3 separate regions of the Homo sapiens genome follow, and all the other regions are linked to region 1. Evidence: promoter capture Hi-C in human tissues and cell types (Jung and others, 2019). All regions are on one chromosome and are shown on one strand. Each heading gives the region's core, a stretch centred on a gene start or on the middle of the fragment in contact. The rest is flanking DNA. Distances are from core to core; before and after follow the strand shown.

Region 1 (3,125 bases), core at 330-2,829:
ATCATGCATTATTCCGGACTGAACAAATGCAAAATCTTGACTGGAACAAATGCTTCCAACAGGTCCGGGGCGTCGAGCTCCATTTCCCCTTTGTCCGCGGCCTAGCAGTTGGCCTGTATTGGGGTTGCCTCCGCCCGACCACCCAGCGCGCGGTGCAGCTCCGGGCACCTCGGGCACGCTTGATAGGGAGGCTGCTGGGGAGGGTGCGCGGGGCTTGACAGGGCCGCCGCCGCCGCATCCGAGCCAGGTTCGAGTTCAGCCCGGGAGGAGCCAGGACTTCTGGTGCAGCCACCCAAGTACAGAGCCCTTCGCTACAATTTAGCAACTAAATATCCAAACTACTAGCTTCAGTAGGAGAGGCCTCTGAGAGGGCGTTCCTCTGTAGATTGAAGCGCGGCCAGAGCTAGGCCATGGCCCAACAAAATGTATCCACGGCGGCCTGTTCCCTGCGCCTCCTACATTGATCATTTTCTAGGGTGGAACTGTGGAAACTAGAAGATCCCAGAGAAACCCATGGCCGGTGGTATTTTCTGCCGGGTAGGCCCTGTCCTAATTCTCCCGATCGGTCCATTCCCGGACCAAGGCGGGCAGCCTCGTCAGGGTCTGCCATGCTGCGAGCGGGGAGCGTAGGCCATGGGCAGGCTCCTGGGCAAAGACCAAAGCCCAGGCAGTGAGAGTGCCGTTGAGGCTATGGGGCCAAGGCGCACAGGCGGCACCAGTTCATCTGGCGACTCCAAGGAGGCCTCAAAGCCCTCACAGGATGCCCTGAGAAGCGCCCCCGCCCAGGGGCTCTAAAGCGGGCCTGGACCCAAATTTGTGGAGCTCGGCCTCCGAGCTCCGAGATCGGCAGCGGCCGGGCGAAGCTGGGCCAAAGAGACAGGCACTGTAGACCTAAGTAGCTTGGCTACAAGCCTCTTCTGTTTTGCCGGCCTGTGGAGACGTGGAGCTGGGGCTCCGAATGTTGTCCCAGCCCTTCCTCAGCACCTCTGAGGCTGTTAGGGGGATGTATGGTGTGATCCGAGGCTCCCAGCGGCCGTTGAAACCCCTGGGCCAATGCTGGCAGGGCCAGGCTAATCTTTACGCCCTCCTGAAACTTGTCATCCTGAATCTTAGAGGGGCCCAACCAAAAAGAGAAAGGGAGCGCGCCAGAGTTTAACGCCGCTTTGTAAATCACTTTCTGGATAATTGCGGGAAACTACCACTCCAGCAAACAAGCTCGAAGAATAAAGCAAACAGGGAATAAATTCCTGGGTGCTAATAAACCCACCCCTGCCACCCCCACCCTTCCCGGCGCTCCCGCGGGGCCTGGCCTCAAGTCAGCCCAGGAGGAGGAGGAGGAAGCTGGGGCTGGGTCAGGCGGGTGGTGGCCACCGCTCGCCACCCAAGATGTTATTCACTGGTAACAATCCCCATTATCTGTCCCCACTTTGGGCTAATCAGACAGAATCGCTAATGCCAAATGCTGCTTCCTGCAGCCTCTGGGAGGTAACTGGGCGCCAAGGGGCGGGGTGCGGGGCGGGGTGCGGGGCGGGGCGGGGGCGGAGGTGGCACCTTCCGGGCTCGCCCCGGCTCTGGTCCAGTGCTCATTCAGGTACTTAACACCCTGGAGACCCGGACCTCGGCTTTCAAAGCGGCCTGGGTGGGAAGAGCTGTTTATATAAACAGAGATTCCGCTGTAAATGCGCTAATATCCCGGCTGCCAGCGCATGGCGAGCGCCTCCCACGCCCATCCGTAGGAGCGGCGTCCCGGCCGCCCCTCCGTTCCCAGCCTGCCCTGCCCCCGCCTCCTTCCCCTCCTCGGCCATGGCCACCTCTGGACGCCTGAGCTTCACCGTGCGCAGCCTTCTAGATTTACCCGAGCAGGACGCGCAACACCTGCCGAGGCGGGAGCCAGAACCACGCGCCCCCCAGCCCGACCCCTGCGCCGCCTGGCTGGATTCGGAGCGCGGCCACTACCCTTGTAAGTGCGTGGTGGATTGCGGTGCGGGGTGGGAGGTAGGAGGCGTGGGGCAGCAGAATCAAGGGCCCAGCCCACGAGGGGCCGGAAAGCCGAAATCCCAGCCCAGAGTCTAGATTTCCTCAGTCTTGGAAACGGGAGCCCTGTCCTCGAACCCCTAACGCATTCATCCCGGTCGGCACATCCTAAGAGCAGATCCCTGCCTGGCACTGGTGCTCCGAGATTTGGGGTTTCTGTGTCTGACGATTTCTAGAGGTCGGAATAATTGAAATTTAAAACGCGCCGCCACCTGCCGCCCCCACCCCACCCCCCGCCCCCTCTCCATGCCTGAAAACACGGCCACGATCTCCAGGCCTCCGTCTGGGATGGCCAGTGTTGGCGAGTTTACCCCCACCCCGTTCCCACTCAGGGCTCCGCAAACCTCGGCACACTGCAGTGCAGTCGACCTGGAGGAGGCCGGCGCTGGTGACCCAGCTTGTGATAAACTGGTCGGCCAGCGCAACTACCGGTGCGGACATGTTAAGAGGGCCCCGGGGTGGGTTTTTTCGGGGCACGATCTCAGGCCCGCTGATGACCGCTGTGGTATGAATGAGGTCACCGCATTCGGAGAGGTGGATGTCCAGATGTGGACTCAGGAAATGGCCTCATCCCGAAAGTCTCGGGCTAGTGGGCGTGCCCTCTGGCCAGTGCCTCCACGCCCGCGCCAGAAGGGCAGCAGGCCCTCGTAGGGTCCGGCGTCTCACCCACCCGTGTCTCCTTTGCTGTCCCTAGCCTCGGACGAGAGCAGCCTGGAGACCAGCCCGCCAGACTCGTCGCAGCGGCCGTCCGCTAGGCCCGCGTCTCCGGGCTCGGACGCCGAGAAAAGGAAGAAGCGGCGGGTGCTATTCTCCAAGGCGCAGACGCTGGAGTTGGAGCGGCGCTTCCGGCAGCAGCGGTACCTGTCTGCGCCCGAGCGCGAGCAGCTGGCGAGCCTGCTTCGCCTCACGCCCACGCAGGTCAAGATCTGGTTCCAGAATCATCGCTACAAGCTGAAGCGCGCTCGCGCTCCAGGGGCGGCGGAGTCGCCTGACCTGGCAGCATCCGCCGAGCTGCACGCCGCGCCCGGCCTGCTGCGTCGCGTGGTGGTGCCGGTGCTTGTTCGCGACGGGCAGCCGTGCGGCGGCGGCGG
Region 2 (3,125 bases), core at 280-2,779, 560 kb before region 1:
CACAGATTTTTTGTGTGTTTTATGTGTTGAGGAAAACACTGGCAACACACAAAAACATGCTTTACATTGCTAATGCTGAATTAGCATCTTTAGCTAGTCATTATGGTATTCAGCTTTTGGACTGGGAAGGCTAAAGTTTGAGATAAACTCAGTTGCTCAGTTGTATTAATTATATAAAAAAGCTTGAATTTCTTCCTCGTAATACAAAAGGTGTTAATTATTAAGTTCCTAAGATTTTTTTTTCTTTTTTTGAGACAGTGTCTCTCTCTGTCACCCAGGCTGGAGTGCGGTGGCGTGATCTTAGCTCACTGCAACCTCCGCTTCCCTGGTTCAGTGATTCTCCTGACTCAGTCTCCCAAGTAACTGGGATTACAAGCCTGCACCACCACGCCTGGCTAATTTTTGTGTTATTTGTAGAGACGGAATTTCGCCATGTGGCAAGGTTGGTCTCGAACTCCTGACCTCAAGTGATCTACCCGCCTCAGCCTCCCAAAGTGCTGGGATTACAGGCGTGAGCCTTACCGTGCCCAGCTCTAAGATCTTATAAAGTTAAAAAAAAAAATGGTACCACCAGACTTAACTTTTCCAAAGGGATTTCTTAGCCCCCAGTCCTTTAACTGTATTTTCAAAAGAGAATTTCTCTGTTTCAACATACCACATATTTTGGAAGCATGTTATTTCAATTTTGAGCTTCTTCAAAAGAATGTTTTTATAAATAAATACTTCATATAACATTCAGTATCTGTTTTTCTGCATATACAATTTAACCTAGATACATTGTTGATGATCAAAATGATTACACTAGTTTGCTACTGCTAGTTTTACAATAAATTTTTGTGTTTATGCTCTCGTTCAATTCTCCCAATACCTCAGTGAGGGTGCAGGGCAAGGATAAGCCTCATTTTATAGGTGGGAAAACTAAAGCAGTGTATTAGTAGGCAGTTCAGCAGAGCCAGGCAAAAGTTTTTGGTTTTAGTCAGATGTTCATTTCATCAAGTCATTCATGCATTTACCAAGAATTATCAAGCTGCAGATATGTGTCAGATGTGGTTCTAGGGAATGGATATCCAAAATTAGTAAGTCATAGTTCTTGCCCTTAAGGAATTACACTCAGAGACCTGTGAATACATTTTAAAGTTTTTATCCTGTATCTACCAAGGCAGAATATATGATCTGAAATTGCCATGGCCAAAGTTAGCAACTTCGGGATATAAGCAGAAAGAAGAAATGCAGTGAGGTGGTTCAGAAAACCATAACTACCACCTACAGTTACAGTTTGCAACAGCCAACTAGATGTGAGACAAACCTGGACATTAATATTCCTTGCAGCTGGGTTCTTTGATGATTTCTGCAGCATTAGGGGAAGCTATGGTGTTTTTCTAAGAATGTACTATTCAGTGATGCTTTAATTTTATTTCCTCCGGTTCTTCAACTGCTAATGTTCATTTTAGTTTCGGCAGAAATTGCTTTGATGATTAAGCATTGTGGTTTATTTTTAATGCGTATTCATCTCAAGTATTTAGCTGGTTTCTGAAGATATCCTGTTGGTGAATTAAATGCTCATACTTACCAGACACAAGTCAGGTGTAGAGTTTAATTAATCATTTAAGAAATACACTGACTTTTTGATGATTATAAAGTCTTGAAGGGAATGTACTGCCTTCACTGTCTTTTGTAATTAGCTACATTCTTTTATTTTAAAGCGTAACATAGGAGTCAGTTAAATGGATAGAACTATTTTAGTTCTTCTTGAAGATTCATAGTGTTGCCCTAAAGGAAGGAAAGTTCAGGAAGAAAATTGTGTTATTCATTTTTCAGTTACTGAGTGGAAAATTTTATGTCTTGAAATTTTTCCTTGAATATTTTACTATTGAAAATATATGGAGGGATAAAGGTATCAGTTTTTTTTGTGAGTAAAAATTTAAGAGTATAATGTTGAAAAGTTGAAATATAAGCATTGTTATGCAGCAAATAAACGAAATATATCTCTTACTCTTGTATGAAACTATTTTAACTTAATGTCAATAAAGTTTAAATTAGTTCAGACTTTTCTTATTAGAATAAATGTTCCCTTTTAAAATGCATGATAATCATAATCAAGACAGAATTTGTCCTGTTATTTATTTTCAAAATGATTGTACATGTTTAGCAGACTTTTGATTTAAATCCCCAGTGATATATTGGAGACAGATGTTTAGATGACCTCATGTTTAAAGTAATGTTACATTTGGACACAAGATTAAATTTTCCTTAAAATCTTTCCCTATAAGTTAAATGTGTGGTAGTATACAAAAACTAATCAATGATTTGTGATGGATTAATGCGATTCCTGTATTTTAAATAAAATGTTCTATCTTTTATGGAATTCCACGTAGTACAAAAGAGCTGATTATGAAACAGCTGTTTACAAATGAAAATATTGTTTTTGGCTGGCCAGCTAGATGGGAAACAGATTTCAAAAGTTCCATGAATTTGAATGCAAATTTACCATATCATTTATACTGAACCAAAGAACATTAGTAAAAAACTGCAACACAGTTTACCAAAAAATTCAGTTGAAGACTATTTTTTAGGATAGAATATAAACATTTAAAATAGCTTTTTCTTTTTCAGAACTAATTTTTTCTTTATGAAAATCAATGTAATTATAACATGTTAGTATATATAGAAGATTTTTAAGGAGCTCATAAATAATATTTAACATTTCAATGAAGGAAAATTAGCAGTTGGAGGTATTAGAAATGCATAGGAAATTGAGTGGAGTGAAATAGATAAAAGATAAGAGATATTGTCCAAAGACAATAAATTAATGTATATGAACAAATGAATTTAAGGCAGAGCTATATAAATATTAACAGACTGTCATTTCTATCAGCAGCAAGAATGCTATATACTAAAAATCACTTTGCTATGGAGATTTTAATTGAAGAAAACATGGTCTACAATGAAAATCTTCACATTTTCTCTCAAATTTTAAACAGTTAATAAGAATTATTTGTTTTGGAACTTAGTTTAAATAAAAATAAATGGCATAAAGGCCATATCTTATAAATTTTGAATATGACTCCCTTAAATGCCAAAGTATATACTTTAATCGAGGTAAGTAAAACTTCTAGAACTAGTGT
Region 3 (3,125 bases), core at 229-2,728, 530 kb before region 1:
CTGAGCCTCAGACAGCTCAGTATCAGTATTTAAAAACTAACATCTGATTTATTTATTCTCCTTGTCATCCATCCATAATCACCGAAGTGATCTTAGAGATGCCAAAGCTTAGTGGTTTGCAGTCTGCATGGGGGCGAGGGGAGAAGACAGAAGACGGTTGGTGACAGTGTGGGTTTCTTGCTGCCTTTTTGTCCACAGCAGTGTCATTTTATCAGTTTAACAGGTTGAATTCATTGGTAAATTTGGTTAAAAAAAGGATTCTCATTCTAACAAAAGTTTAGAAACCTTCAAACCTTTAATTTAGAAACCTTTCTTACTTTATAAGAAAACATTGAGGCATTGAGAGAAGGCATAATTTTTCAAAGGTTTCAAAAGCAGAATTCATGTCTTCTCATTCCTGGGCTAGGTATTATTCCACTGTATTTTGCATTAACTTGCTCAATAGCATTATGATATCTGTGATTTTTTTTTTGTTGCTGTTCAAAAAATGAGTATTTTTTTCCTCCTCTTTTTTAGAGCGATAGAATAAGGTTTGGCATAAAATAGGAAACCAGACAAGTTCTTCCAATAGTTTATAGTCTCTTCAAAACCAAGTAACAGGTAAGAAAAGTGCTGGTTCAAGCAGGCTATTCCTCTGTCGTGAATATTATGTTATCAGTCATTGATAAACAGTTGTCTGGGAGTGAAAGAGTTTCATTGCCATGAATTTAACTGAAAATAGTGAGCGCAATATGGTGGTCCCTTATGAAACCAAGTTATAGTGCTGGGGAGGTTGTCTAGGTGGAGTTGACCCTGGCTTACTGCAAGGACTGGGTGACCTGGAGAAAAATGAGTTAGAAATGACCTAATTGCTCTCTCTCCTGTGCTCTTCAATCCAAGCAGGCAGTGCCTTCATTGTATCTTTATTATAACTTGTGTCTGTACTTGCTAAATTTTTGCTTCTGAGAAATCAAAGAATACAAAGATTCCTTCATGCTTGGAAGAGGCTGTGTTTTCTATATTTCAAGTGGATGTACTTAGTACTCTAGAATGGAATGATACTCACCTGTTCTCCATAAGCCTATTAGGTGATTTTGGTAAATGTGAAAGTTGCCTTCATCCTGCTATTTAGTGGCTTATTTTACATTTAATAATGAAGCAAGTGCTCAAGGGACTAGTTTTCTGGCTAACTAATGCCTCTGCAAACCAATGCAACCTCTTAACATAAAACATAAGTAGTAGAAGTTCAGAGGAAATGAGCTCTTGTGTTCCCTCGAGCATGATTAGAAAGTCTGAAGTAGTGTTCACAAACTATTGTTTTACAGCAATTATACATTTTTTTCACAAGTATGAAACTGTTCTTTATGGAAAGCACAGGTCAACTTAAAGTCAGAAGCTCTGGTTCTTGGAATACTATGATGTTATAAAGAGTAACCATAAACTATTTTAATAACATTGTAATAGTTTACATTCATTATGTACATTTAAGCTGCAATTTAGTTGTGACATGCAATGTTAATAATTTTCTCATCTTTGTGGGAAACATAACTGGAAAATATTACTCATTAAATATTTCCCCTTTTTAAATCTTACTTTATAAAGACCTCAGGTTATCTATAGAAAAGAATTGGTCAATGTATGGCAGTTTTGCAATGTAAAAAAAAAGTTTTAAAGGACCAAAGATATAATCTTCTCATTATTTCTTATTCCGAGACGCCTTAGGAATCATGACAAAGTCCAGGCCTATAAAAATTAGGCGACTAGATTGTGCATGGGCAGTTAATTAGAAGTAGAGCTAAAGCTAGCACATAGGTCTCCTGACTGCACAACATCATTCATTAATACTTTCGCAACCACTCTCTGTGACAGGTAAAGATAAAAAAGATTTTTTAGAAAGCCAAATTTGTATTTATATAACTTGGCTTTGTATTTCAGATTCTCATGACTAACAAAACAAATTTCACTGAAAAAAGAAATTACATAAATGCTACAAATCTGGCATTTTTATGTTTTTATATACCAAAAAGGTTTTCTTTCCTTTCCTTTCCTTCCTTCCCTCCTTTTTTCTTTTCTTCCTTTCCTTCCTTGATTCTTTCTTTTTCTCTATTTGGCCCGAGATTCATTGCTTAAATGAAGCAGGGTTAGTTGTTATGATGATCCCTTCACGCAACTTTCCAAAGCAAGGTAGAATCACGCACACCATCGTAATCTCCATCCTTGTTTCAGTCTGATGCATTTATTAAGCTCTTCCATTCACATGATGTAGTACTGCATGATCTACAAAGCTGTGCATTTCATGGGGATCAACTAATTGAAACTTCTGACTTTACAGTTAAGAGAATTGTAACAAAATTCTGCTGTTGCAAAGTAGGACAAAATTTTAAAGAAAAAATAAACACAACAAATATATTTAGTTTTCTTGCCTTATTTTCAATAAAGAGATGAGTACACTTAGTGAGCTGATAAATTAAAGAGGAGTAGGAAAGTAACAGGTTGTAATGGAACTGCAATATTTCAAAAATTAGAGTGTGGGGAGTAGGTGGATGGAAATCAGGGAACAGAAAATTGAAAACTGAGGAAAGGTACAAGAAGATAAAAAGAATATAATATATTTATCCATTTTAGATATTATGACTTGTCCTATTTTTGTGAATTTCCAGACTGAAAAGCCAAAACACAAAGGGATTGAGGCACACAACACACACACGCACACACACACACACACACACACACACACACACACTTAACAAAACTCACATCTTTTAATTCCCAGTATGTAGGTGATTTTCCTGAATTTCAACTCATTACTGTAGCAGCAAGGTCTCAATGTACTTCTTCCTTTGTAAAGTGAATCTATAGCTTTTCTGTCTGATAAATTACTTATCAGTACTAGCCTTTTAAACTGTATTTTAAATAACAAAACAGTGTATTCTTTTCATTCTGTTCATTTTTCTTGCTTAAGTGGAAATAATGAGTCAACCGTAAAGTGGATGTTATATAATGAAATTAGCAAAGCTTCCTTTTCAAGTTTCTTGTAATAGTTTCTGGTTCAGTAATAATGGTTAATAGTGACTTAATGATTTGTTTGTACTCTATCCTGGGTTTCTATCATAAATTTTTTTTTGTAAGAATAAAAAAGGCGTTGT

What was found. Contacts are between HindIII fragments. The study calls those that stand out against the background at their distance.
Region 2: a fragment that was not itself captured here is called in contact with the fragment with the promoter of NKX2-8 in region 1 in 2 of the 25 tissues and cell types used here (mesenchymal stem cells and mesendoderm cells).
Region 3: a contact is called between a fragment that was not itself captured here and the fragment with the promoter of NKX2-8 in region 1, in 4 of the 25 tissues and cell types used here (dorsolateral prefrontal cortex, mesenchymal stem cells, small bowel and 1 more).

The regions. Positions count from the first base shown.
Region 1 is chr14:36,581,068-36,584,192 of GRCh38, reverse strand. It overlaps NKX2-8 (NK2 homeobox 8), which reads left to right and starts at 1,579. Exons shown (of 2, transcript NM_014360.4): 1 at 1,579-1,960; 2 at 2,729-3,125. The coding sequence starts at 1,804. RefSeq lists enhancers at 2,188-2,998, 2,999-3,125. The HindIII fragment of the contact is 13,278 bases long and covers 1-3,125 here.
Region 2 is chr14:37,138,271-37,141,395 of GRCh38, reverse strand. All of the region lies in intron 1 of SLC25A21 (solute carrier family 25 member 21), which reads left to right. Among named protein-coding and RNA genes, the nearest start is that of SLC25A21-AS1, 32 kb to the left of the region's middle. The HindIII fragment of the contact is 4,758 bases long and covers 1-3,125 here.
Region 3 is chr14:37,108,302-37,111,426 of GRCh38, reverse strand. The region is part of intron 1 of SLC25A21 (solute carrier family 25 member 21); the gene reads left to right. Among named protein-coding and RNA genes, the nearest start is that of SLC25A21-AS1, 62 kb to the left of the region's middle. The HindIII fragment of the contact is 3,481 bases long and covers 1-3,125 here.